3 separate regions of the Homo sapiens genome follow, and regions 2 and 3 are each linked to region 1. The links are contacts of gene promoters, found by promoter capture Hi-C in blood cells and fetal thymus (Javierre and others, 2016). All regions are on one chromosome and are shown on one strand. Each heading gives the region's core, a stretch centred on a gene start or on the middle of the fragment in contact. The rest is flanking DNA. Distances are from core to core; before and after follow the strand shown.

Region 1 (3,863 bases), core at 989-3,488:
AGCCAGCTAATTTTTGTATTTTTAATAGAGATGGGGTTTCACTATGTTGGCCAGGCTAGTCTCAAACTCCTGACTTCAAGTGATCCACTGTCCACTTCGGCCTCCCAAAGTGCTGGGATTACAGGCATGAGCCACTGCGCCTGGCCGAAGTTGAGCATCTTAAGCCCCAACTGTATTTTGGATTTTGCATCATAGCCATCACTGTTGACCTTGATGGGCCTAGTTTTAGTCGCAGGAAGGAGGGTTATTCCAATTAAGAGAGAGCTAAGGAATAAATAGGTAAAGTGGTAGAGTTCGAGTAGGCATTAATTTGACAAAGAGGAAGAAAGAAATAAGGGAGATGGCTAGATGGGGGCAGGAGTTTCAGGGTGTGCTTAAAATGCAGACTATGAAAAAGGAACCTGGAAGGCCTTGAACCGTGTTTAAACTGCAGGGACTCTGGGCACTGCCAGCTAGTAGCTGGCTGACCTTGTGAGAGTCACTTAAGCTCTCTGGGGAATTATTTTCCTCGTCTGTAAAAACGGCCTAATAGTCCCTACAACGTAGGACTTCTGTAAGCATTAAATGAGTGAACATGTTTAACAAACTCAGAAAAGAGCCTGGCAAAGTTGTCACACTGTAGGACCGAGCAGGGAGGTCTCCTCTCCCCGGCCCTCGACTTGTGTTTTCCCAACGCATATTCCCGCACGCTCTCACGGCTCCAGCCTCCGGGCCGGAATGGCTGCCGGTGAGACTGTGGTACAACCCGCTGTGCGCAGGCGCGTGGCGGGCAAGGAGGGGGCGCGAGGGGCGGGGCTGCAGCCGCCTGGGCTGTTCCAACGAGCGCGCGCCGCCCCCGCCGCGCCCCGCGCCGCCCTTGCTAGCCGAGCCTCCCGCCCCCTGCATTGCTGATGCTGCTGCTGGCGGACATGGACGTGGTGAATCAGGTACGCGCTCCAGCACCGTGGACAGAGCCCGCCGCCGCCCGGCTGCCTAGGCCGGGTCGCTCAGGCCAGCCGACTCTGGGAGGTGGTGGCCAGGGTCTGGCAGCGGAGACCCGGTCCCCGGCGCTGGGGATGGGGGTCTGCGGCAGGTGAAGGGGAGGAAGGGGGAGGTGGAGAAAAGGAGTGCGCTCTTTGCCGCAGCGAGGGCCGTCCTCACTGCCGCAGCGGGGGCCCCCGGAGCCCCGTTTATTACTGGCGACCGCGAGGGGAGGAATAGGGGCCTGGGGGCTGGAGTGAGGGCAAGGGACAAGGGGAGGGGAGAGTGGAAGGAAGATGGGGGGTGCTGCGGATAAGCTAGGAAATAGAGCGACAGAAGGTGTGGGGGCGGGGATGGGGGAGAGGGCTGGCACCCGCCCCTCCCAAACAGAGACTGTACCCCCATAGGCGACCACCCCTTCCCCCAGAGCACACCTAGGGGACAATCCGGTTTTACTCCTTCCAAAACCCCCAGCCTCCTCACCCCCAACACATAGCGACTGAAGCCGTGTCCCAGCCCTCCCCCACCTTAATCAGTCCAGACCCTCTCCGCCATGTCTCTCGTCTTTGCCACCTCAGAAACTCACCCCCAATCAGTCCCAACCCTTCCCCATCCCCATCACCTCAAATATCTACCGCCACCGCCGTCTAACACACCTTTACCCCTGCAGACCCTTCCCCCACCTGAGCCAAACCGACTCCTGCCCCGTTATGACTCACCTTCACCATCACAACCCCCCCACCCGAATGCACCCCACTCCATCCCCATTCTCTACCCGAACCCCTTCCCCATCCGACTCGCCTTTACGTTTCAAACCTGCTCCCCCTCCTTAACTAGTCCTGACCTCATCCCCATCTCCCTCACCCCCGACTTCCTCTGCCATCTGACTCACCATCTCTTCAGACCTTCCCACCAGTCCTTGGACCCTGGGGCTCACACCATCCCCAAGGTGTCACTTTCTCCTTCTCACCCTCTCCCCGAGGTCACATGCTCCATCCCCTGGGGTCATTGATGGGCAGCCTTGCCGCTCACCTCCCTGTACCTCCAACAACCCCACCCCTTCCCCACTGTTTCTCTCCTCAGCTGGTGGCTGGGGGTCAGTTCCGGGTGGTCAAGGAGCCCCTCGGCTTTGTGAAGGTGCTGCAATGGGTGAGTGTGGTCCGGGCTGTTGGGGCAGAGTGCAGGGAGAGAGGGAGGTCATGGGGTCCAGAAGAGCAGGGGTGGAGTAGGGGCGAGTAGCCAGGGATGAGTGCGGGGGTTGTAGGGGATGGGGGAATTGGGCTCCAGGGTGAGGTTTCAGGGGTCTGAAGCCAGAAAACAGATGAGCTGTGACGTCACATAGGGCTGAGGGTACCCCCGTTGTGAAGTGGGAGACTGTGACGTCCTACCTCCTCTCTTGAAGTGAGGGAGGGGTGGGGGAGGTGGAGCCTGTAGCAGATGCTGGGTGAGAGATGCAAAGTCAGAGAAACCCAGAGACAGTGAAGGTGACAGAGAGAATGAGGGACAGGGAATGATAAAGACAGAGATGGAAATACTGAGAAAAAAAAAAGAAATATGGAGATGAGAAGAGATACAGACATAAGAGAGAAGAGACAAACAGAAACAAAGAAAAAGGAGACACAGAAAACAGATGCAAAGAGAAACAGACGCAGGGAGAGAGGCAGGAAAACAGGGTGAGGGAGAGAGAGACACAGAGAGAAAGAGACACTCAGAAAAAAGAGAAACCAACACACAGAGGCAAGAGGGAGACAGAGAGAGAACCATCCGGAGACCGAGTGAGAGACAGGACAGAGAGACAGAGACAAACAGACCAAGAAACAGAAAGACACAGACATACAGGCATACACTTACACAGACAGAGAAAAAAGAGACAAAAAGAGACATCGACAGATCAGATAGGCAGAGGCAGAGAGGATCAGAGACACAGAGAGACAAAGAGACATCTGAGAAAGACAAAGACACATAGAGAAACAGAGATACCGAGAGAAACAGAGACACAGTGAGATACACAGAGAACAACAGAGACAAACAGAGAAGAGGGAGGTCAGCATGGAAAGGCAGAGACAGAGAGAGACACAGAGAGAGAAACAGGAAGAGACAGCCATACCCTTGTAATCAGCTTGTCCTTGGTCCCGATGAGCCCTGATTAGGGGGTGGGGGTGGGGACTGCTCCATCTGCTGCTGCCTGTGCTGGGCCCCCGATCTGTCCAGAGGAGGGCACCTCCCTCCCACATGCACACAGGTTCACTGTGGCCATCCCCATCCCTGCTGCCCAAGGTCTTCGCCATCTTCGCCTTTGCCACATGCGGCAGCTACAGTGGGGAGCTCCAGCTGAGCGTGGATTGTGCCAACAAGACCGAGAGTGACCTCAGCATCGAGGTCGAGTTCGAGTACCCCTTCAGGTGTGCTCCCACCCTGGGATACCAACAGACCTGGGAGAGGAAGGGGCAGGGTGGAACCGGCCAATACCTCCCCCCGCAAGTAGCTCCTGCCCAGCTCCCACCTCGAGGCTACATCCACTGGGATCACTGAGCACCTGCCTTGTACCTGGCACTGCTCTGGACTCTAGGACTATGTGGTGAGCAAGGCAGACATAGGCTGTGGCCCTCTGGCTCTGTTCCAGCGAAGGGGTAAGGGACAGGCAATAAACAAGATACAAAAGTAAGACAGGTGTATATACATACCTTAACCCAGTAGGTACCCAATTAATGTTAGCCAATATTATTATTTAATCCCCATTCATTCATTCTATACACATTTTTGAGAACTTATTTTATATCTGGTACTACTCAAAGTGCTGGAAGCATGATAGTAACTAAAACAGACCCAACTCCCGCCAGGCACAGTGGCTCACGCCTGTAATCCCAGCACTTTGAGAGGCCGAGGTGGGCGGATCACCTGAG
Region 2 (3,863 bases), core at 373-2,872, 440 kb after region 1:
TGTCACAATACCCTGTTTATATTCCTGATATTGGCAATCCATATATTTTCTTAATTTCTCGAGAGAAAATAGACATTGCTAGTATTTTATTAATCTGTTCAAAGAATCAACTTTTAACATTGTTGGCTTTATTGTATCTTTGCTTTCTATTTCACCAGTTTCTGCTGTTATAATTTCCTTCCTTCTACTTTCTTAGGTTCCACTTGCCATTCTTTTCCCAGTTTCTTGATAGGGAAGCTCAGGTCATTGATTTTCAACTTTTCTACTTTTCTGATCTGTGCATTTAGAACTATAGATTTCCTCTAAGCACTGCTTTGGCCACATCTGCATCATTTTGATAGTCTGTTAGAAATAAACTCCACCTATTCCTCCCATTATTCTATTCTTCCCTGCCAGCTTAGATTCACTCCCCAGATCCTGCTTTGCAGACTCGGAGCTCCATCCTTGCAAATTCAAGGACGAGCAGGGATGGCTGTCTTCAATAACAGGAAGGCCAGCGTAGCTCAGAACCCAAGAGTGAGTGAGAGATAAGTGGGAGGGCAAGGCAGGGTCTGGATCCTGCAGACTCTTGGAGGTGAAGTTACAAAGCCTGCTTTATAAAATGATGATCAAGACATAGTCATCACACAAAGGACTGGGTGCAGTGGCTCACGTCTGTAATCCTAGCACTTTGGGAGGCCAAGGTGGGTGGATTACATGAGGTCAGGAGTTTGAGACCAGCCTGGCCTACATGGTGAAATCCTGTCTCTATTAAAAATACAAAAATTAGCTGGGCATGGTGACGTGCACCTGTAATCCCCTACTCGGGAGGCTGAGGCAGGAGAATCGCTTGAACCTGGGAGGCAGAGGTTGCAGTGACCTGAGATTGCACCACTGCACTCCACCCTGGGCGACAAGAGCAAACCTCGGTCTCAAAAAAAAAAAAAAAAAAAGACATAGTAATCACACAAGGCTTACTGTGTGCCAAGCCCCGTTTTACACACTCTACAAAAATATAATCCATTTTATTTCTCACCACAGCATATAAAATCCCTATAGTCAGAGTGCCCGGAACACCATGTCCTTCCTCCTTTGGCCTCCTCTACAGGGAAGTGTTCTGTCTTCCTACAGGGTCCTCTTCAAGGTCCCCTTCAGGTTGCCAGGGGCCTCTGAATTCCTCTCCTAAAGCTCAAGGTCAGCGCTGTGTTTCCTAGCCTCTCTCCACATGGCCTTAATCATGACAGCTTTGGGGGCACCCTGCGTGAGCCACCTTTGTATCTCTCCACCTGTCCCTGGCTAAACTGGGGGAGGAGCCAGCCCTCAGCCCCGGCCCAGCCCTGCACACCTGAGCACAGGGCCCTCCATGGCTTAGAGCCGGGCCTTTCCATGGGCCTCTGCTGCCCTCTGCTTGTCTCTGAAAGAGAAAGGGAGAGAGGAGGACAGGAAATGGGAGCCCGCAGAGAAGGGAAACAGGTTACTAGACCAGTTTCAGTGCCAACACCCTTGCCCCAGATCCCCAGGGGCCATCTTGTTCACCTGTTTCTCCAAAGTCCTGCCCCACATCTTGACTGGCAGCCTGGAGGGCAGATGGCGCAGCATGGCAGGGTAGGCGTCTTTGCCCAGGGTCCTCCCGACAATCCTCTGGCTCAGCGCCTGGAGATCAAGGGGCAGGAATGGGAGGGCACAGGCTGAGGACTGTGGGAGGTGACACAGGTAGGTAGTGCAAATGGAAGGACTTTAACATTAAATTCAGGGCCTCAAAATTGAAAGCTTAAAGTGGATGTGTGTAAGGGATTACTTCTTGTTAACACTGAAGGCTGGGTGCGGTGGTTCATGCCTGTAATCCCAGCACTTTGGGAGGACAAGGCACGTGGATCACCTGAGATCAGGATTTCGAGACCAGCCTGGACAACATGGCAAAACCCTATCTTTACTAAAAATACAAAACATTAGCCAGGCATGGTGGCGGGCGCCTGTAATCCCAGCTACTTGGGAGGCTGAGGCAGGAGAATCGCGTGAATCCGGGAGGCGGAGGTTGCAGTGAGCCGAGATGGCGCCATTGCATTTCAGCCTGGGTGACAGAGCAAGACTCCATCTCAATAATAATAATACTGAAAAACCACCAAGTATTAAGGGGATCTTTATTCTAGCGTGTGATGCCTCTGGTCTACTTAGGGGTATGTCTCCAAAGTGTGAGATCTGTGAGCTGTTTGAGAGTGTGTGTCAGGGGTATGAAGTTGTGAGCTATCTGAGTTAGAGTATGACTGCTCTGACCCATTAGGTGTCTGTTTCCAAGCCAAGATCCCTGAACTCTTAAGAGTTCTGAGCCCCTTGGTCAAGCACGGTGGCTCACGCCTGTAATCCCAGCACTTTGGGAGGCCAAGGTGGACGGATTACTTGAGGCTGGGAGTTCGAGACCAGCCTGGCCAACATGGTAAAGCTCCATCTCTACTAAAAATACAAAAATTACCCAGGCATGGTGGTGTGCACCTGTAGTCCCAGCTATTCAGGAGCCTGAGGCAGGAGAATAGTTTGAACCCGGGAGGCGGAGGTTGCAGTGAGCCGAGATCGCGCCATTGCACTCCAGCCTGGGTGACAGAGTGAGACTCTGTTTAAAAAAAAAAAAGTTCTGAGCCCCAGGGTGTGATGTTCCTGAATTATTTTGGGGGATGAGTTTTGGGGGATGAGATTTGCAGTCTTCCTCCTCCTCCCCACTCACCCTTCACTCACCCTCACCTTCCGCTGCTGAGAGTCAGAGAACATTCATCAGCCCAGTTGCTGTTCACTTTACCCTGAGCAGAACTCCCCCATCTCCCTTACAGGTTACTTGTCTGGCCCCTGGAGCATGTGAGTTTGAGATTTTTGTTTCTAGTTACCCCCAACACAAACACTTTGTGTTGTGGATATTGTTTTGTTTTTGTTTTTTTTTGAGACAGTGTCTCACTTTGTCACCCATGCTGGAGCCCACTGGCGCCATGATGGCTCAGTGCAGCCTCAAACTCCTGGGCTCAAGGGATCCTCCTGCCTCAGCCTCCTGGGTAGCTGGGACTACAGGTGTGTGTCACCACGCCTGGCTAATTTTTGTATTTTTAGTAGGGATGAGGTCTTGCTATGTTGCCTACAATTGGCCTGCTTTGGCCTCCTGAAGTGTTGGGATTACAGGCGTGAGCCACCGTGCCCGGCCAGATATTGTTTTTAAGCATATGATTTTCCTTTAAAAAGAGTTACACAAATAATATGTGAATACAGGTTTGTATAAAAGATTTGAAAAACAGGCTGAGGGTGGTGGCTCACACCTGTAATTCCAGCACTTTGGGAGGCTAAGGCGGGTGGATCAATTGAGATCAGGAGTTCAAGACCAGCCTGGCCAATATGGTGAAACCCCCATCTCTACTAAAAATACAAAAATTAGCCGGGCATGGTGGCACGCAGCTGTAATCCCAGCTACTCGGGAGGCTGAGGCACAAGAATCACTTGAATTGGTGGCAGAGGTTGCAGTGGGCTGAGATCGTGCCACTGTACTCCAGCCTGGATGACAGAAGGAGACTCTTTCTCTCGAAAAAAAAAAAAAAAAAAAAGATTTGAACAACACATCAGTACATGGACTCTAGCAATCATCTCTATCCCCATTCCCCCAGAATGACCACTGGGGTCAGATTCTGGTGTTTCCTTCCAGATACAGTTCCCTGTGTTTCCATAGTGTGTGTGTGCGCACACTACACACATGCACTAGGTCACTGTAACTGACTCCCCCTTGCTTTTCCCTGCCTATAGCACATCCTGTAGAAGATAACCCCCACCCTTGCAGGTACACACAAGTCCCATCCATTCTGTGTCACGTCCAGTGGGCACTCTGTGCTGTAACATGAACCCTCATTATTCGT
Region 3 (3,863 bases), core at 1,227-3,726, 370 kb after region 1:
CATTTATTGAATGCCTATTGTGTGCTGATCACCTTCCAATTTGCATGCTATATATATATGATTTATGTTGTTTTCTCCCTGTCCCACGTCCCCCCATCTCTCCTTCCCTCCTCACGCGAATCAACAACTGTGAAGGCTGGATTTCCCAAACAGCTTTATTGAGATGTAATTTACATCCCATCAAGTTCAGCCAGCTAGTGTCCAATTTAACGGGTTTTAGCATATTCACGAAGTTGTGCAACTATCACCATAAGTAAATTTTAGAACATTTTCCTCACCCAGAAAAGAATCCCCATGCCCATTAGCAGTTCCTCCCCATGACAGAGGGAGGGCAGGATTTTGCCGGTTTTGGTCACCATTGAACCCTAGCCCAGCACAGTGCCTGCCAGACAGTAGGGACCCAACATTCCCACCCCCAGAAGGTTTATGTTCTAAAAGGCAGAGGCAGATAATATAATAAACCAAATAAATATGTAAATCACGTGGTCTGTTAGCCATTATCATTAGAATGTAGTCTTTATTAATTATTCAACATACATTTATTGGGAACCTACTGTGTGGCAAGGACATGGAGTTGGGCAATAAATAGACAACAAACTGTAGCCCTCATGAAGGTTATATTCTGGTCGGGGTGAGAGACAACAAACTAGGTTAAAAAGGGGGCGGGGCACAATGGCTCACGCCTGTAATCCCAGCACTTTGGAGGCCGAGTCGGGTGGATCACCTGAGGTCAGGAGTTCGAGACCAGCCTGCCCAACATTGCGAAACCCTGTCTCTAATAAAAACACAAAAAAATTAGCCAGGAGTGGTGGTGGACGCCTGTAATCCCAGCTACTCGGGAGGCTGAGGCAGAAGAATCGCTTGAACCCGGGAGGCGGAGGTTGCAGTGAGCTGAGATCACACCACTTGCACTCCAGCCTGGGAGATAAGAGCAAAACTCCGTCTCAAAAAAAAAAAAAAAAAAAAAGTGAACTATATGTCAGTAGCGGGTGATAAGCATGCAGAAGGTGCTCAGTTCATGCCAGGCTTTTAAATTATAATTTAATCTCCATTCATTAATTCAAGAATCTTCCTTCGTGCCAGGCATTGTGATATGGCAGTTAACAAAACAGACCCCAGTCCCTGCCCTTGTGAGGATTGGATTCTGGCAGAGAGAAAGAGACAGTAACAAGATAAGGAACAAGGAAGTTGCATGTTCGAAGAGGATGGGCACACGGCAGGTGGTCAATTAGTGTTAGTTATTAGCAGCACATCCCCATTCACTCAGTGAATGCCCCTCGGTGTCCTTGGGCTCAGGAAGTGCCCTGCTTAGTGCATCCTAATGGCTGTTGCCACGACTCCCCTCCGAAAGCCTGGCGCAGCGGCAGTTTGGGGGCGGATGGTGGCTTCGAGGTTTGGTGGAGCTGGAGATCCGGAGGTCGGAGTCGGGGCAAGGTCCCAAATGGGGATGCGGCCGCGGCGTCCTCAGCTCTGAGGGATCCCTGGGAATAGTCACTGGCGGCGTTGGCCCAGAAGGAGCGGGGGCGGGATAAAGAGAGCAGGAAGCGGAGGACGGAGCTTGGGGGTCCCCGACGGTTGGGGACAGGAAGAAGACCTGGAGGACTGCGGGGAGGGGCGAGGCGGCGGCGCACGTGGAGGGAGAGGTCGGCTTCTGGGGGTCCTGTAGGGGTGCCCGGCCATCTTTAGGGATGGGTCAGAAGGCAGAGGCGGGGTCGAGGCTGCCTCTTAAGTCGGGGTCTGAGCGGCTGGAGTCTGGGGGCGCCGACGGTGAGGAAGGAAAAGCCCGGGGCCTGGCCGAGTGGCGGAGCGCAGCTTCCACCCCAGGTGCCTGGCGGGACGGGGCCACACTCGCCCAGTCCCCGCGACGCGCAGGGAGGCCGCGGCCCTGGTCCCCAAGGCTCCGCTCCCGGGAGGAGCCCGAGGCGCAGAGGCACGTGCCGAGGGCACTGGCCCGGGGCCTCAGCCCGCGGGAGGCGCCGGAGATTGGGGGCTCGGTCCTCTCAAGTGGCGCGGAGCCCCCGGCGGGTCCCCGTGGCCGCGCGCTCAGAGCCGCTGGGACCAGGTTGGGGGGCTTCGCCCAGCTCACCAAGGCTGGCGCGCTAAGGGGCCGGGACCTGGGGTTAGGGCGGCCTCGCCAGGTCGTGCTTTCCCGGACGAGGCCGGGTGAGGTGCAAAGCTCGGAGTGCGGAAGGGTCCCCGAAACCAGGACTCCACTTCGGGCTCGGTGTGAGCAGCGTCGCCCGGGCATCCTGTCAAGACCCATCCCGACTCCGGGTGAGGCGGCCCCGCTTCCAGCCAAGCGCCGACACCCCTCCCGGCCGGCCGAGTGAGGGGCCGCTCGCCCGGGAGAAGGCTTGGCGCTTGGGGGACGATCCCCCAAAGCCGGCGCGGGGATACCCCCAGGCCTGGCAGGGCCAGGGGCACCGGCGCCTCGCTCACCTGTGTCCGTGGGGAGGCGGGCGCGCTGGGACGCTCTGACAGGCCTGGCGGGGGGCGACGCTGCTCCCCGGGGCACCCCGGCGGCGGTTGGGGGAGTGGACATGCGCAGCCGCCCTCCCTCGGCTCCTCAGGCCGCCCACCCCCCTGCGCCGCGCCCCTGCCCCTGCCACTGCCCCGCCCCTGCCCGTGCCATTGCCCCGGGGGAGCAAGGGGTCGTGCCCCCCCAGGCGGCTTGCGCACAGGCACGTGGGTGCCACAGCGGCCTCTAGGGGTGCACGGACGGCGGCCAAACCTCCCCGTGTGTCCCCTGTGGCGCCTCTCCCTTGCTTTCCTGTTGGTGGTGTGTGTGTGTGGGAGAGTTGGGTGTTAGATTTTGACCAGGATGGCCTGACTTTGGGAACGGTTTTGTGGGAAGCTCTTTCAGGCCACAGAGCCTGTGCTGCCTCAACTCGGTTTTTTGGTAGCTCTGGAGAAAAGACAGTGACAGAGGAGGGGTCATTCTGTCAGGGAAGAAAGACCCTGATTGGAGGCGGCTGCCTGTCAAACTACACATTTCCCAGGCTCCCTTGCAGCTATGGCAACCACATGCACAGTCCTGATCAATGAGAGGGCAGCAGAGGTGGGGCATCCAGAGGGCTCTTAAAACAGGGCAGCCCCTGGCCCGGGAGTGGTGGCTCACACCCATAATCCCAGCACTTTGGGAGACCAAGGCCAGCGGATCACCAGGTCAGGAGTTTGAGACCAGCCTGCCCAATATGGCAAAACCCCGTCTCTACTAAAAATACAAAAATTAGCCAGGTGTGGTGGTAGGCACCTGTAATCCCAGCTACTCAGGAGGTTGAGGAAGGAGAATCACTTGAACCTGGGAGGCAGAGGCTGCAATGAGCCGAGATCGTGCCACTGCACTCCAGCCTGGGTGACAAGAGCAAGACTCCATCTCAAAAAACAAAACAAAACAAGAACGGGGCAGCCCCGGCCCTTCCCCATCCCTCCTCTTCTTGACTCAGTAAGGCTGTGGTGGTCAGCTTGGGATCATAAGGTGGCCATGAAGAAAAGTCCTGGAAACCTCAGATCCAACTCCCTTGAGCTGCCAAAGCAATTCTCACCACGTGGGAGAAATTCAGCTCTCAGACTGTCCTCCAATTTCCCACCTGTGGTCAATGGCAGGCACCCCTTCTGCCAAGAAGCTACCATGACCACCACATTCAAGTTAAACCTGGACCTCCCACCATCCCCAGTCAGGCCAATGAGACAGTGGGGAAACAGGCCTGGTAAGGATACTTCCTGCTAGTTTTCTTGCCTTCTCAGCCTAGGGTGTGGGTGTGGCTGGGACTGGCTGTGAGGCTCCTATTTATAAGGCAAGCACCCATTTTCTCATGGATTCTACCATTTTATATCCCGTGGAGCCAGTCAAGATGGCTGCT

Evidence for each region. The method cuts DNA at HindIII sites, captures the fragments that hold promoters and counts their contacts. A CHiCAGO score of 5 or more calls a contact.
Region 2: the fragment with the promoter of GLOD5 here is called in contact with the fragment with the promoter of SYP-AS1 in region 1 in 2 of 17 cell types (fetal thymus and neutrophils); the score reaches 6.9 in fetal thymus.
Region 3: a contact is called between the fragment with the promoter of ERAS here and the fragment with the promoter of SYP-AS1 in region 1, in 2 of 17 cell types (neutrophils and activated CD4 T cells). The highest score is 5.5, in neutrophils.

What each region holds. Positions count from the first base shown.
Region 1 is chrX:49,197,214-49,201,076 of GRCh38, reverse strand. It overlaps SYP-AS1 (SYP antisense RNA 1), which reads right to left and starts at 2,238. Exons shown (of 2, transcript NR_046649.1): 1 at 1,853-2,238. It overlaps SYP (synaptophysin), which reads left to right and starts at 884. Exons shown (of 7, transcript NM_003179.3): 1 at 884-926; 2 at 2,044-2,109; 3 at 3,238-3,362. The coding sequence starts at 891. RefSeq lists silencers at 692-931, 1,002-1,051. The HindIII fragment of the contact is 12,908 bases long and covers 1-3,863 here.
Region 2 is chrX:48,759,506-48,763,368 of GRCh38, reverse strand. GLOD5 (glyoxalase domain containing 5) reads right to left here and starts at 1,622. Exons shown (of 4, transcript NM_001080489.3): 1 at 1,516-1,622. The coding sequence starts at 1,578. RefSeq lists a cis regulatory region at 1,128-1,870. The HindIII fragment of the contact is 2,551 bases long and covers 1-1,751 here.
Region 3 is chrX:48,825,126-48,828,988 of GRCh38, reverse strand. It overlaps ERAS (ES cell expressed Ras), which reads right to left and starts at 2,476. Exons shown (of 2, transcript NM_181532.3): 1 at 2,440-2,476. RefSeq lists a silencer at 2,609-2,658. The HindIII fragment of the contact is 5,532 bases long and covers 1-3,863 here.